2 separate regions of the Homo sapiens genome follow, and region 1 is linked to region 2. The links are contacts of gene promoters, found by promoter capture Hi-C in blood cells and fetal thymus (Javierre and others, 2016). All regions are on one chromosome and are shown on one strand. Each heading gives the region's core, a stretch centred on a gene start or on the middle of the fragment in contact. The rest is flanking DNA. Distances are from core to core; before and after follow the strand shown.

The links. The method cuts DNA at HindIII sites, captures the fragments that hold promoters and counts their contacts. A CHiCAGO score of 5 or more calls a contact.
Region 1: a contact is called between a fragment that was not itself captured here and the fragment with the promoter of PAX8 in region 2, in 5 of 17 cell types (M1 macrophages, M2 macrophages, M0 macrophages and 2 more). The highest score is 7.2, in M1 macrophages.

What each region holds. Positions count from the first base shown.
Region 1 is chr2:113,136,458-113,139,989 of GRCh38, forward strand. No RefSeq gene overlaps it. Among named protein-coding and RNA genes, the nearest start is that of IL1RN, 11 kb to the left of the region's middle. The HindIII fragment of the contact is 236 bases long and covers 1,794-2,029 here.
Region 2 is chr2:113,277,671-113,281,568 of GRCh38, forward strand. It overlaps PAX8 (paired box 8), which reads right to left and starts at 1,251. Exons shown (of 12, transcript NM_003466.4): 1 at 1,161-1,251; 2 at 700-799. The coding sequence starts at 724. RefSeq lists a promoter at 724-1,853. The HindIII fragment of the contact is 9,772 bases long and covers 1-3,898 here.

The sequences.
Region 1 (3,532 bases), core at 662-3,161, 140 kb before region 2:
AGGCCAGGAGTTCAAGACCAGCCTGACCAACATGGCAAAACCCTGTCTCTACTGAAAATGCCAAAAAATTAGCCAGGCATGGTGGTACATGCCTGTAATCCCAGCTACTTGGGAGGCTGAGGCATGAGAATCACTCAAACCTGGAAGGTGACAGTTGCGGTGAGCTGAGATCATGCCACTGCATCCCAGCCTGGGTGATAGTGAGACCCTGTCTCAAACAAACAAAAAAACAAAACACTTCCTTACTTTGGTTTAAAGTGTTCCATAAAATATTCCTAAGAGGAAAAACTTTAAATCATCATCGTGCTGCTAGAATGTCAGCTCAACCCATGCAGATATTTTTGTCTGTTTTGTTCTACAGTGTATCTCAAGTGCCAAGGCCATTGCTTGCGATATACTGGGTGCTAAGTGAATATCTGGCCAGTGAATAAATGAATTGGCCACTGATATATCAATATGGATTAATTTATTCGACAGGTCAGCAAATTTGAGAAGACTGGGGACTTGGATCAGGAATATTTTGAAGGAAGCTTAGAAGAGGGAAAAGGCCCAGAGTGAAGGATTTTTCAGATATTTGGAGGTTAAGAAAAAAGATATGACCACGAGGTGGCGGTAGCACACATAGGCTTTCGGGTTGATGCTTTAACAGGTTTACACTGGGGAAGGTCCTTTATAGCAGGAATTGGTCAAGGAGGCTATAGTGTGGAGATGGGGTCCTACTCAGAGGGGAAGGAGGGCAAGAGGACTCCTAGGAAAGAAGAGAATTGGAAAGGGGGCTTACATGGCCAGGTGAAGTCACCCAGCAGCACAGCAGGGAATCTCTGGGTCAGAGAGCTCCTATGGGCTGCAGTGGCTTGAGGCCTTTATGGCTTGGGGCTTATCCTTGGCCAGCAGATATTGGATACAGTTTCATGGAGTATACAGAGCAGGCAGGTTCTAAATGGATTACCATAGGCTTATTGGGGCTATGTTTAAAGCAAGTGGATGTGCAAACATTTGAGTTTGGCTTGGTGGGGTATTCCAGGTCTGGTCTCAGCCTGCGGTGAGGAAATTAATAATCAAGGGGCCAGCACTTTATATAGCACAAGGCAGGGGCCATGGATTAGGAAAGCCAGGCCTGGGGTTCATGCTTAAGTGAGGCTTTTGTTCAACTGGGAGGCGGTGCACAGGTGACTGGGAGGTGGAGGGGCTGAGATGGGAGAGAAAAGCACAGAGAGGGAAGACAAGCAAGCCTCAAGAGGATTGTGGCTTCTTCCGTCACTTCTGGGCCTGATCTACTACAACACTACAGAATCAAGGACAACTGTTTGAAAATTCAAGGCTGAATTCAGGTCTTTCATTGGTGAGTCAGAGTTTTCCTACAGACTCCCTGGGGGGCCCTTGGCCAAGCAACCTCTCCTCCCTAGGCCTCAGTTTTCATAAAAGGAGGGAATTGAACTAGATATGTGTCTTCATCAGGCTGACCTGCAGGAGCTTTTTACCAAAAGTGGCCTACCTCCTCCATCCAGAGGTTCTGATTCACTTGATCTGGGTGTGGGACAAGGACATCATGATGCCAGGGCTGAGGCCCTGTGGACCACATAGCTCCTAAGTCAGGGACCCTGAGGTCAAGTCCTCCCAGCTCTCCCACCTGGCCCTGGTAGTGTCTGTCAATACAATGGAGGGAGATGGTCTTTAACTTCAAAGAAAGGCCACTTACCGCATCAGCAGTACATTTTGACTACATGTTAATTTGGGTTGAAGGTAGAAGATTTTCTATTTTCTCAATCACAGGCTGGCTAAAACACATTTCAAGCTTCATTCTGGGGGGAACATAAATTGGCCTTCAACAGGGGGTGTCAAATTGGGGTAAAATTCTTGCAAATCTTGGGGAAACCAAATAAGTTTTTGTTTTCTCTTCACATAACTATGAAATCCCTAGCCACAACAGCAAATCTCAACATGCTTGATATTCAGCCCAGTTCTCTCCATAAAAGTTTCTGGAGACAATGAAACTCATCTATTGGGTTCTTAGCTTTAAACCTGAGAAAGCTTAAAAACAGGGAAGATTAGCTTTGACGTCTTGCCTCTGGGTCTCCTTCATGTGGAGCTAAAAGAGTAGTTCAGGAAATATCCACCAGGGGTCAGCATTTTGTACACACCTGACTGCTCTGGAAAGTGTTTTTGTTTTTTTTTTTTTAAATAGAAACGGGGTTTCACCATTTTGCCCAGGCTGGTGTCCAACTCCCAGACTCAAGCAATCCGCCCGCCTCAGCCTCCCAAAGTTCTAGCATTACCGTGTGAGCCACCACACCCGGCCTGGAAAGAATCTTGACAAGGCAAATAATCAGTTTGGTTCATGCTCTCAAATTAGTGAAGGTCTGGTTTTTCAAGACTCTCTAGGTGTTTCACTCTAAGGAAAAATTTATTTTCATTCACCTATCAATCAAGCTGAGGTGGGGCCTGACTCCTGACAAGTATCCAAATGTTGCCTATTGCCAATGTCTAGTCTCCAAGGGGTGACACCCGAGAAATTCTAAGTCTTCTGTGCCTGCTTTAAAGTCCACTTCCTGTCATCCTGTTATCTGTTGCAGACCTTTTACCTGTATGATTGACTGGTGTGTGGAATTAACACTTCCCTCCTCGGCCGGGGGAACACACCCACATGTTGGAACTCAGCACAGGAATCCCAACGGCGTGCCTACAAGGGAAATGCGTACTTTTGTGTGTTGGTGGGTAGTGGACAGAACTCGTAAAAGAGATAGATAAAATACCCAGGCACTCACTACAGTGGGGAATGGATCTGTTCAGGGGCCAGCTATGCCTGCATTCTTTCCCAGGGACAGTTGACACAGTCAGATGACTCAGGAAACTTGATTTGCTTGGAGTCAGAGCAGAGGAAAGATCTTAGTGACCAGGGACCTCAAGCTGCCCCACCTGAGCGCTCCACCTCCACTCCAAGGGGCTTCCTGCCAAGAGATCAGTATGTCTGTGTGTAGAGTCAAGACACATCTTCCTTAGGCCACAATGGAGTCACACTGACATCTTCGCCTTCCCTCCTTGGCAGTATTTATTATAAGTCACAGGAGTTTAGTTTTCTTTCAACTCAGGCCTGTGGTTGGAGCACAGGGAGCTAGGCTGGGGCTAGATCTTGCTAACCTAGTAGGCAATGGTAAGGATTCTAGTCTGTCCTAAAGCATAAATAGGCCTTGGACACTCTGAAATTTGTCCTTTCACCACCCCATGCTCTACTTCTAAGTGCTCTCTCTCCCCATCTGCACCCCCTAGTTCCTACAAAAATCTCCTCAAAGCGAGGCTCTTGGACAATTTGTTCCATGAAGACATCGAGCACGGTCCATACCAGCCCTCAATAACCCCCTCTTCTAGACTCCATGAGGACCTGTAGCCCAGACCCCTGATCTGCATGGCGCCTCTGGGGTCTTTCCAGAGGTGTATGTTTTAACCATCCCCTGAGCACCTTAAAGTAAAGATTCAGTGTTTTGCTGTTTGTGCTCCCTAGAGCACCTGGGCGCTTATCGGAAACTGATGAAAA
Region 2 (3,898 bases), core at 1-2,500:
GGCCGGGAAGGGGGAAAACAGGCATCGCGGCCTGGGAGCTCGAGTGTGTTTGAAGGCCCTGCTTCCGGGCGCAGGTGGGGAGGGGGTTTTGACTCCGCGAGCGGCTTAGTCCTCACCAGCCGGACGCCCCGCGCGCGGCGCCCGGCCTGCCCGGTGCTGGGCCAGGAGGAGTCGGAGAGCACCTGAGTGCGCTGCCGGCTCCCGGGCCCGGGACCACCGGCTCCATTGCCGTTGGCTTGAGAGATGCGGGGAGCTCACAGTCCAGCCAGGGGAGTCACTGGGAAGGACTGCGCGCACCCGAGGAAGAGGACTTAGAGGTCGGGGACGGGGAAACGGCAAGTCCAGCACCGGTGCAGCCCAGGGACAGAGCACGAAGAATGTCCACACTAATGCGCCATGCAAGGCTGGGAATGGAGCTCAAAGGAAACCCCCTCTAACTCCACAGAGATCCCCTCACCGATCCATGTGGTCCCTCGAAACCGGGCAAGGGCGGCTCAGCTGGCCGGGTGGAACCCCAGTGCCCGAGAACAGCGAGGCGGCTCCAGCGGAGGGCCAGGCCCCAGGCGCCCCAGCTGGGTCCCCACGCGGGTGGGTCCCGCGAATCCCGTGCTGACGCTCTCGAGATCCAACCACCCGAGCGCACGCACGGACGCTCAGCGGCGCGGGGGCTCGGGGATCCTGACCACACCGCGTTCTTACCAGATCTGATGGAGTTGTGAGGCATCGCCGGGGAGTCGCTCGCAGCCCGCCGAGGGCTCGGGGCTTCCTCCCGTAGGTCCGGGCCGCGCCTGCCGCTGCCCTGCACAAACCCAGGAGAAGGGCATGAGATGCGATGAGATTCGATGCCTGCATCCTCAGGCCCCCTCCCCAGGCCTCATCCTTTACACCTGCATCGTCTGCCAGGAGTAGGAGGATTTTTAGGCGAAGTAGGGCCAACCTCAGCCTAGCCTAGCTAACAGGCTTCCCGGGAGGATCAAGGATTGGGAGTGCGCTGAAGAAGCTCCAGACTCCAACCTCCGTGCCCACTCCCTCCGCTGTCCCAGTCTTATCCCGTTTAACTTGGGAGGGAAAAGGCTGCCAGGCATCCTGGGACCCTCTCCTTTCTTCCATCCCCCGTCCTCACTGCTAGCCAGCTTCCAGCTAACCCCTGGGTGACATACCTGGCCGGCCGGCTGCAGGCCCTCACTGCTTGGGTCCGCCCGCGAGGGTGCCCTGGGCCCGGTGTCTCTCCTCCTTCTGAAGTTTGTTCCCATCCACCCGGCATCACCGACCGGTTTTATCCCGCTGAGGCCCTGGGAGATGGGTCTGGCGAGGCTCGTAGGCCGCGGATTGGCTGGCTGGGTGCAGGGGGGTGCGGGAAGGGGAGGATTTTGCAAGGGGGACATGGCTGAGTGGACTCAGGAGTTAGAAACATTCGCTGGGAGCTTCTGTTTCCAGCGGAGGGAAGAGGGAGGCAGCTGAGCCCTAACTCAGCAGGCCTGGAAATATTGGAGGAGTGGGGAACAGAGGCCTAGGAGCCTGAGGATGAGGTTCTCTGGGTCCTCCTGGGTCACTGACCACCAGAAGTGAGAGGGATGGTCTCTGTAGGATGCCCTCCTTGCCCCCTGTCTCCCCTGGTTTGCTCACCAGGAAGCAGCCTTTTCTTTTGTAAAAGGAAGGAGGGAACTTCTGTTTTATGCCTGATTCTTTAGGTAGAGCCTGCTTTCGGGGCTGTAGGCAAGATGCTATTACCTTCTCACCACAGCTATGACCTCTTCCAGGGAAGAATCCTGAGCAGCACCTGAAGCCATTCCCTCTGTTCTACACAGATAGCGTTCACACCCTTGCATTGTCAGGCTAACAAAATTGTCACATAACCCATTCCACAGCAACTCCTCGCCTCTCTCCTCTGGAACACACACGCAGCCACCTGCCCTCTTTCTTGCTCCTTGAGGATTTTGAACTTGGAAGAAGAGTTCAGGGGAAGGGCATTGAGGGCCTAGACTTCATCTCTGTGTGGAAAGGCCTTAGAAAGGAACAGGACTGAGCTGACCTCTGGCCTGGTCTGTAGGAATCAATAGCCTCAGCAATATGGGGGCCTGGGTGTGGTTAAGAAGGGGTCCACTGGTGGGAATGATGGCAGGGTTGGTGAGCCCTGGGACCGAGCAGAGCTGCCTGGCACCTCTTTACCTTAGTGATGGCAAAAGCTGCCCCCTCCTTCCTCATAGTTCTCTCAGTCGGGGAACCGGGGTACACGTAAGATTGTGAGTGGGTATGAGTGAGCAAATGTCCTGGAACACTGGCAGGCCTGGGGGTCAAGGCCTGGATGCTCCTCCAATCTTTGGCCAGACCTCTGGACTCAGGATTACAGTCTAGAGGACAGCCATGCCCTTTTCAGTGATGGCTCTGCAGGCCTGGTGGGGTTGTTCTGGGACAGGAGGCTAAGAAGCCAGTGGGAGGGGGGCAAGGAAGGTGCAGGGGAAACTGGGATATTCAGGGGGATTGGATGTGTGTGTGTGTGTGTGTGTGTGTGTGTGTATGCACATATGTACACGTGTGTGAAAACACATGAACTATTTTTCTGAATTAAAAAAGTTTTCTCTTTCATGTCAATCCACAACCTCCTTCCACCCAGTCTTTCTCATTTCTCAATTTAGGAGAAATGAATCATCTTGTGAAAAAAGAGAGAAGAAGATGTGTATCCCTACATGTTTCCTCCACATTTGCAAAGAGGGGCTGTAAACAAAAATAGTTGGTGCTTCATCATTTTAAATCTTTCTCTAAAATTGTAATTTTAAATATCTCTGTGGTTTTCAAAGCTCCAGATCCCTAACTTCTCTGGCAGTCCCTCCCAGAGAGAGACAATCCAAGGGTGTTGGGATGGAAATGGATCTTGGCATAGGTCCTCCGGACCCCATGGGCCAGTTTGCTGCCCTGGATTGTGTCCTGCTGCAGGGGAGGTGTGGAGTGTGGCAGCCACAGCAGAAACTCTCTTTGTCCACCCAGGATTCCCTCCCACCAGGGAGGCAATGCTCCAGGGTGAATCTAATACGCCCTCATTTCAAACAGCTCTGACAACCTTAGAGATTCTACCCAATCTAAGGTTCTGATACGTACCAATAACCATTGACTCTCATGCAATCATTCTTGCCTGTGCACATCTTTTCTGCCCAAGCAATGAACCCTCTCCCTTTCCTATCCCCTTTTTGGGCAAAATTTCTTAGAGGACAAATCCAGCAAGTTATCAGAACATTCCTGTCCCATGTATAAATTTATCTTTAAAATTTCATTTCAAGGTAAAAACAATGTGCACTGTTCAAGGTTACTCCTCAGGGAAAAACACACCCCACACCTTGACAGTACCTCTTCTCCAGACTGCAGGTGACATAGCAGGTGACCAGAAGACTCAGCAGAGAAGATCTAGGACGAGCAAGAAGTGAGAATGCAGTGAACTTCTGCTGCAGAGATAAACACAGGCCTCCTGGACTGACCCTGCTTCTAATTAGAATCAGAAATCAGGCCTGGGTTCCTTGGTACTTCCTAATTCTCTGAGACCAAGGCCAAGGAAATGTCATTAACTGGTGCTTTAACTCTGTCTCTTTGGCATCAGTCTCCTCCTCTGCAAAACGAAAGGTTTGAAATACATATATTTTTAAAATCACCTATTATCACAGTATTTTTTCAAACTTAAAATCCATGATGCTTTTAGTTAAGAATAAAAATCATATGCCTTCCTATGATGATATTTGAAATTTTAAAATAAATTTGCACTGTGACTAATAGACTTTCAATGGGACTTTTAGAACTCTTTTTTTTTTCTTCTAGACTTAGTCTCACTCTGTCACCCAGGCTGGAGTGCGGTGGCATGATCTCGGCTCACTACAACCTCCACCTCCTGGGTTCAAGTGATTCTCCTGCC